Regions from separate parts of the Homo sapiens genome. Here region 2 is linked to region 1. The links are contacts of gene promoters, found by promoter capture Hi-C in blood cells and fetal thymus (Javierre and others, 2016). All regions are on one chromosome and are shown on one strand. The core of a region is centred on a gene start or on the middle of the fragment in contact, and the rest is flanking DNA. Distances in the headings are between cores, read along the strand shown. Region 1 holds the start of GUCY1B1 (guanylate cyclase 1 soluble subunit beta 1). Region 2 has its middle 26 kb from the start of MAP9.

Region 1 (3,332 bases), core at 531-3,030:
CCCAGGAAACCCTTCCTTCCACCTTTGTTACAATGTGATAGTCTGACTGTTGCTCTAATATGAAAATCCATAAATAGGGTTTTGGAGTAGCTAGTTGGTGGTGGTCAGCTGTACCATAAGTTAAATGCAAATTTTTTGAGAGTGAGAGGAAAAAGGAGAGACAACTTTATTAGAGTGAAATAGTCAACCTGCCTGCAGACATGCTGACCCATCAGTCATTCCAACAGGTTTAAACTCTCAGGTGGGTGTGGTATTTCCGTTCACATCCCCAGTACTGGGCTCAAAGCTCCAGGACTGAAAGTAGAATGCCTCCTAGAACTGTTAAGTCTTCAACACAGTAGAAAAAAACGGGGGATAGGGGTTGGGGCGGGGGGGGTGGGCAGTGGGATTTGGGGAAAACAAAAAACTTCCAATTTTCACTTTATTTAAAAATGAATAAATGCGCTTAATTCACTGTTGCTCAAGAAATAATCTCCCGCGTGTTTCAGCATACCAAAAAGGCCTAACTTACGCCAGGTGTGTAAATCATAAAGGAGCCAAAGTCTTCCGTTTGTTTCTAAGGCCTCCGGGCGCAGGAACCTCGCGGAGGCCCGTGTGGTCCCTCGGGGCTCTGCACGCGTGGGAGCTGCCCGGCCTGCTGAGCCTGGGAGCGCCGGCAGCGCGTTCCCACGCTCAGGCCGGGTCGGGAAGCCGTGGTGACCCCTAGGGGCTCCTTTCCGCGGTTCTCGCCCTCGCAGCCCCGCCCCAGCCGCCCCTCCCCTCCTGGTTCCAGTCCCGGAGCGTGGGAGCGCAGCTGCAGCGAGCCGGGAGCGAGGCGCGGAGGCACCTCCAAGGATGCGCGCCCGCGACCCGGCCAGCAGGCTGAGGACCAGGCGAGGCGCGGGGGGCCTCCCACACTGGGCGCCGACCTGGGCCACAGCCAGGGTAGCCGGCCACTTACTTGATGTCTTCCCACACCTCGGGGCCGTAATTGCGGATCACCAGCAACTCCAGGGCGTGATTCACAAATCCGTACTGCGGGGACAGGGAGAGACTTGAGCGTCAGGGACCCGCTGTACCTGAGAAGCGGCTTGGGGGCGAGGCTGCTGCCTCTGCTCCCATGGCGCTGGCTTAACCTTTCACCCCGCCCCTGACTCCTCTCCCTTAGGGGTACTATGCACTAAAGGAGTCGGATCGTGGGGGCGCAACCCCCCAATCCCTGGTGGATTCTCCCCGTCACCATCCGCCCCACCCCCACGCTATCTTCCCACCCTCCTCACCTGTCACCGCTCCGGGAGAGGCTGGGCATCGGGGGCAGCGCGGGGACGCGAACCCGGAGCCTTCCCTTCCGCTGGCGCTCAGCCTCCCACACTGGTGGGGCCGGCCAGAGCCGGGAAGACCCCACGCCTCCGCCGCACCTCCCCTTCCCGAGCTCAGGAAGCTGCGGTGTGGAGCGGCAAACCCGCCTGGGAAGCAAAGGCACCGATCGCCCCCGCCACGACTCGCGGCGTTCCCACCTCCCCTGACTGGGCGCGGGCAAGGAGTGAGGCTGCTCCCGTGGCCGGCAGTGAGCGCCCAGGGCCCCCGAGCCAAGCTCCGGCTGCGCGGCCAGTTCCCTCGCTGCCAGGCCGGCCGAGGAGGGGTGAGGTTCGGGCCGCACCCGGCTGAGAGCACTTACCATGGTGTCTGCACCGGGAGCCGGGGAGGCAGCCCCCACGCAGAGGTACGGCCGAAGGGACCCAGGCAGAGGCGGCAGCGGCTACAGCGCAACCGGGCCGGGGAGGCAGCATCGAGCTGGAGCGAGAACAGCCGCCTTGGCCCGCCCTGATTGCCACCTCTTCCCAGCCAATGGCGAGTCGAGCCGCAGGGGGCTGGTCGGTGCTCCCCAGTTCTTCAACCAATCAGGGACAGAGGAGGGAATTCGGATGCTCTCAATGCTGCTGCGCTCCAGTGCCTTCCCGCCCCCGCCTGGTGACAAGGCCTTCATTTGAGGCCATAACAATGACAGTGGAGAAGCCCCAGCCGTGCTCCTTGCATGAATTCTGGAGCAGAGGAAATGCAGCTCTTGTGGACCCACTAAATGTATTATTATTCAGAGATCTGCCCTCAGTGGTTAACACAAGCAAAAGGGAACAGGGCGTGTTTGTTGTGTGAGCGTGTACGTGTGTACTTTGCAATGGACAGACCTTAAAAGGAATATCCTCTGTTGCTGGCATCCTCATGCTTATCTTTGTCTAGCGGAAAAACATTTCCTCTGTGGCTTGGTCCCACAACAGTTTATGGCAAATTTAAAGCTGGTAATATTGAGAAAAACATATTTTCACTTCTAGTCAATGAGACTAGTTGAGTGAAGCACCAAAAATTTTCAGTAATGTAGTTTGGTGGACGTTATGTTAAATCCAGTCCTGCCCTTTACTAAACTGTACAAGATCCAGCGATATTCTAGGCTTGATCCCTGTGGGACACCTTTCCCTACACCATGTCCGGGAGCCATAATTCCAGGGAGTTTGTAACCCTCTAGAGCGGGCCTCTGTTGCTGTTTCTTAGCAACAGACGAACTGGAAAATGACCAGTACAAAATGCACAGACTTTAACTACTCTACCTCCAGCTTACATTCTACCAGGCCCTTAGGTTAGTTAATGCTCTGAGTCCTGCCATAGAGAGAAGATGAGAGGAACAGGAAGTGGCAGCTTATTAAAGCTGTTTGTACCTGAGGTATATGGACTCCAGTTGACTTTTAGGGCAAGGTCAAAAGTGAGGTCACCAGTCTCAAGTGGACCTGAGAAGCCAGATGGTATTTTAAGATGTGCATATTTTGTTGTGAGAACAGTCTCAATATGGTTAGAGAAAAATGTCAAAACAATAAGATTGTGCTGACATCAGCACCGAGAGAGCTATGATGAAGGAAACTGATACAGAAATAGTGGCATGTAGCAAACAAACAAAACAACAAATTACTTTAAAAATTTCCATTATTGGTGGAATGAGTAAATAGATTACAGCCTTTCATACAATCTAACACCTTGTTTTAAACAACTATTAAAACATTAATCATTATTTAACAACAATTAACCACTAATTTTGAACCATTAAAATGGCACATTAAACAACCATGAAAAAGCAGGAGGGTGACTAGAAAATGATGATGCAGAAAAGTATTGTCAGGTTTACAAAACACCACAAGAATGTAATCATTTTCCATTTTTTAGAGTTAGTATACAGTAAGGTGCTATGTGGGTAATAACACAGGCACATACATGTTGCTGTAAGAATAATGGTTTGGGAGGAAACACAGGAAGTGTTGATATGGCTATCGTCTGTAATTAGAACCAGTGGCTGGAATGGCCATGAC
Region 2 (3,332 bases), core at 468-2,967, 360 kb after region 1:
ATGGGAAAGAACCCTAACTATGAACAATGATCCTGGTTGAGTTTGGGCGGGTGGGGAAAGGATTGGGAGGTGAGCAGCTTACATTAAGTCTTTTAAAAACATGGATTTAAACAATATTTTCTTGACACATTAAACTAGTAAATTTCTACTTTCTAATATAAAGAAAAAGCTAATCATTCAAAAAGCTTTATTAAATGATGTAAATAGCTTTGTTTCAATGTAACTTTTAATCACTATAAGCAAAATGAAGTATCTCAAGAATACTAATGATTACATTCATGTTTCCTCTGGATAGTAAATCCTTTGCTGCCATCTTCTGGAACTTGATTATTAACGTATACTCTGGGCTTCCCAGAAGAGACAAAAGAATAATTACATCCTTACATGAGCACAATGCTGACGCCAAATTAGCTGTATGCACGTGCTAAATCATTTCTTTTATTCTCATTAACCTACAGTCGGGCTCTGGACTTCCCTTGAGAATCCTGAATGGGATTATTTTTTTACAAAGAAATTCCCACTAAGTAATGCCTGGGCTTTCTTCAGTGCTGGATTTTAATTCCACAAAAACTCATAATCTTACAAATGCATATAATGATAACAGATAAAATAGAACAATTTGAATAAAGAGTAACGTGTAAATAAGTGATTAAAAAAACTTGAAACTATGTTTACCCTCCCCCCCCCTTTTTTTCAAACATTAGTTTGGGGCCCTTTATTTAGGAAATCTTAATCAGAAATCCAACATACAAACAAAGAGAACTGGGCATCCACTTGTATCCTTCTTCAAAAAAGTGCCTAAAAGTATATTTGCATTCGTGTGTGAAACTAGATTTGTCTTAAAGGGATCATGTACAAAGCAGGAAGGAGCCAAGCAATTCCAGAAAGGTGGATGAACAGAGGAGCTACACATGGGAGAAATGATGCAAAAAGACAGTGTGTGCTAATCGATCAGGAAAGAAGGAAAGCACTGGGTTAATTTCTTACATAACAATAATGTGGTTTTATATATGTGAGATGCCATTAAAAGTAAAGATTCCTTAAAACTTCAGTGATACAATAGAGGCTATATAATCAATCTTGTCTGGGACATTTCCAGGAAAAAGCAATGTTCTTTCAAACCTATCTGGGTCTTAAGATGTGACTGTACTGTGCGCTTTCCCTTCACCACTCACGTCTGGAAAGATAATGAACTCCCTCAGCCCCACTTCCTTATCTCCCATTCACTTGCAGACTTAATCAGTCATGCTTCAGCTTTCTTCTCTCCCAGTTGAAGCTGGTGAATGTTTAACTCTTGGGATGGGGAAGGATGTGAGAAGGGAACACCCTGATTTGTAGCATTGTAGCATTTGCTGATTTCAAGTAATTCCACCATCACTGATCTAAAGCTGATGTCATTGAATGCAGAGCTGGGCTTGGATGTGCACAAGAGACTCTCCTGAGTAGGTATGAGCTCCAGTGCACAAGGGCCTCTGCTGAGTAGGTGTGAGATCCAGCACACCTCTCTCTAATCCCTCTATTGAAACTGCTCTTACCTAGGCATGGTACAGATCCCAGTGACCTCCTAAGGAAAAATCTAGTTTGCTTCTCTACTTGACTAACAGGCAGCATGAGCCACTCCCTTATTGGTGAGCCATTCTCCTCTTTGGTTCTCTTCCTATTTCCCTGGCAATTTCTTGCCTTTCTGTGCTACGTACAACCTCTGCCCATAACTTGATAGATGCTTCCTAGGGTCCTATCCTCTGCTCCCTTCTGTATTCACTCCCCTTATAATCTCAGCCCCTCAACCACTCCCATATATCACAGGCACCTCCAACTCAGGGAGTCCCAGTCTGACATCATGCTGTCCCCTCTTCCTTTTTTACCTGCACCCGGCACACACTTCAATCGTACTATTTACCATAGTTTAAAAATGTATCTATTCCTCTCTATATTCACTGATATTGCCTAATTTCATCTGCATGTCATATCTCTCCTGAGCAAATGCCACAGCTTTTTGGGTGATTTTTTTTTGTCTACCCTCCTTTCAAATTCTTCTCCCCACAACCACCATTCATCTTCCAACTCAACTGTCAAAATTACACTTCTTTGGCACAGTCTAATTACATTTCCTGCTTTCTCCCATTTTTTCTCTAGGTTAAAATATTAATTGCACAGGCCATAATCAATCCTGCTTCCCTGCCATGTGTAGGAGGCACCAACAGAAATACAACTTATTAACATAAAGTTGTATGTTTTTCCCATTCTGAGCACCAGAATCTTGACTGAAAAAGTCAGGTATATGAAAATATAGTGTAGGGGTTATATGAATATCTGATTGCTGCCATAGTCATTTACTGTCTTACAACACCATCTCCAGACAGTTCTAGAGACCACAAGTCTGAAATGCATGAGCAGGGATGCACTCCTTCTAGAGGCTTTAGGGGAGAATCCGTTCCCTGCTCCTTCCTAGCTTCTAAGGGCCATGACCCTGCATCACCCCAACTTCTGCTTCCATCGTGGTCACACCTCCTCTCTGATTCTTACCCTCTTGTACTCCAATTGTATGGACCCCTGTGACTACACTGGGCCCACTCTGATAATCCATAATCTCCCCATTTTGAGATCTTTAATTTAATCACACCTGCAAAGTCTCTTTTGAAATGCAAGTTAACACATTCACAGGTTCTGGGAATTAGAACATGGACTTTTCTGAGAGTTAACTACAGGGGTTAGTTAAGAACGCTGGCTCTGGGTCCAATCCTGGTTCAATTAATTAAAAGCTACTTGCCTGGATTTGAGTGATCTGTCAGCCACAAGTTTACAGAACTGCCCCTTAGAGGTGGAGAAACTTTTTTTTTTGTTTTTAAGAGACAGAGTCTGGCTCTGTTGCCCAGGTTGCAGTGCAGGGGTGCAATCAAAGCTCACTGCAGCCTCAGACTCCTGGGCTCAAGCAATCCTCCTGCCTCAGCCTCCAAAGTAGCTAGAACTACAGATGCATGCCACCACATCTGACTAATTTGTAAATTTTTTGTGGCAACGATGTCTTGCTATGTAGCTTAGACTGGTCTCAAACTCCTGGCCTTGGCCTCACCCTCCCAAAAATGCCAGGATTACAGACACGAACCATGGCAACTGGCCAAAATAAGGATTCTTAAATAATCCCTTCATTCATCCTTTTAACACTCAGTAAGCATTCATTAAGTGCCGTTTACATGGCAGGCCCTATTCTAGGCTCTGGAAAAGAGTAGTGAACTAAATAAAGCTTCTTACCCTTAGAGAATTTATATTGTGGTGAGAGAAAACAGACAAATAGATAAACAGAATGCACAGTGTATCAAGTGCTATCAAGT

The links. Contacts are between HindIII fragments. The CHiCAGO score rates a contact against its expected background, and 5 or more counts as called.
Region 2: a contact is called between a fragment that was not itself captured here and the fragment with the promoter of GUCY1B1 in region 1, in 5 of 17 cell types (fetal thymus, M2 macrophages, M0 macrophages and 2 more). The highest score is 9.8, in fetal thymus.

The regions. Positions count from the first base shown.
Region 1 is chr4:155,757,469-155,760,800 of GRCh38, reverse strand. GUCY1B1 (guanylate cyclase 1 soluble subunit beta 1) reads right to left here and starts at 1,780. Exons shown (of 14, transcript NM_000857.5): 1 at 1,658-1,780; 2 at 941-1,014. The coding sequence starts at 1,660. It overlaps LOC105377506 (a long non-coding RNA gene), which reads left to right and starts at 2,386. Exons shown (of 8, transcript XR_007058484.1): 1 at 2,386-2,611. RefSeq lists silencers at 733-1,002, 1,453-1,602. The HindIII fragment of the contact is 7,462 bases long and covers 1-3,332 here.
Region 2 is chr4:155,401,054-155,404,385 of GRCh38, reverse strand. No RefSeq gene overlaps it. Among named protein-coding and RNA genes, the nearest start is that of MAP9, 26 kb to the right of the region's middle. The HindIII fragment of the contact is 3,059 bases long and covers 188-3,246 here.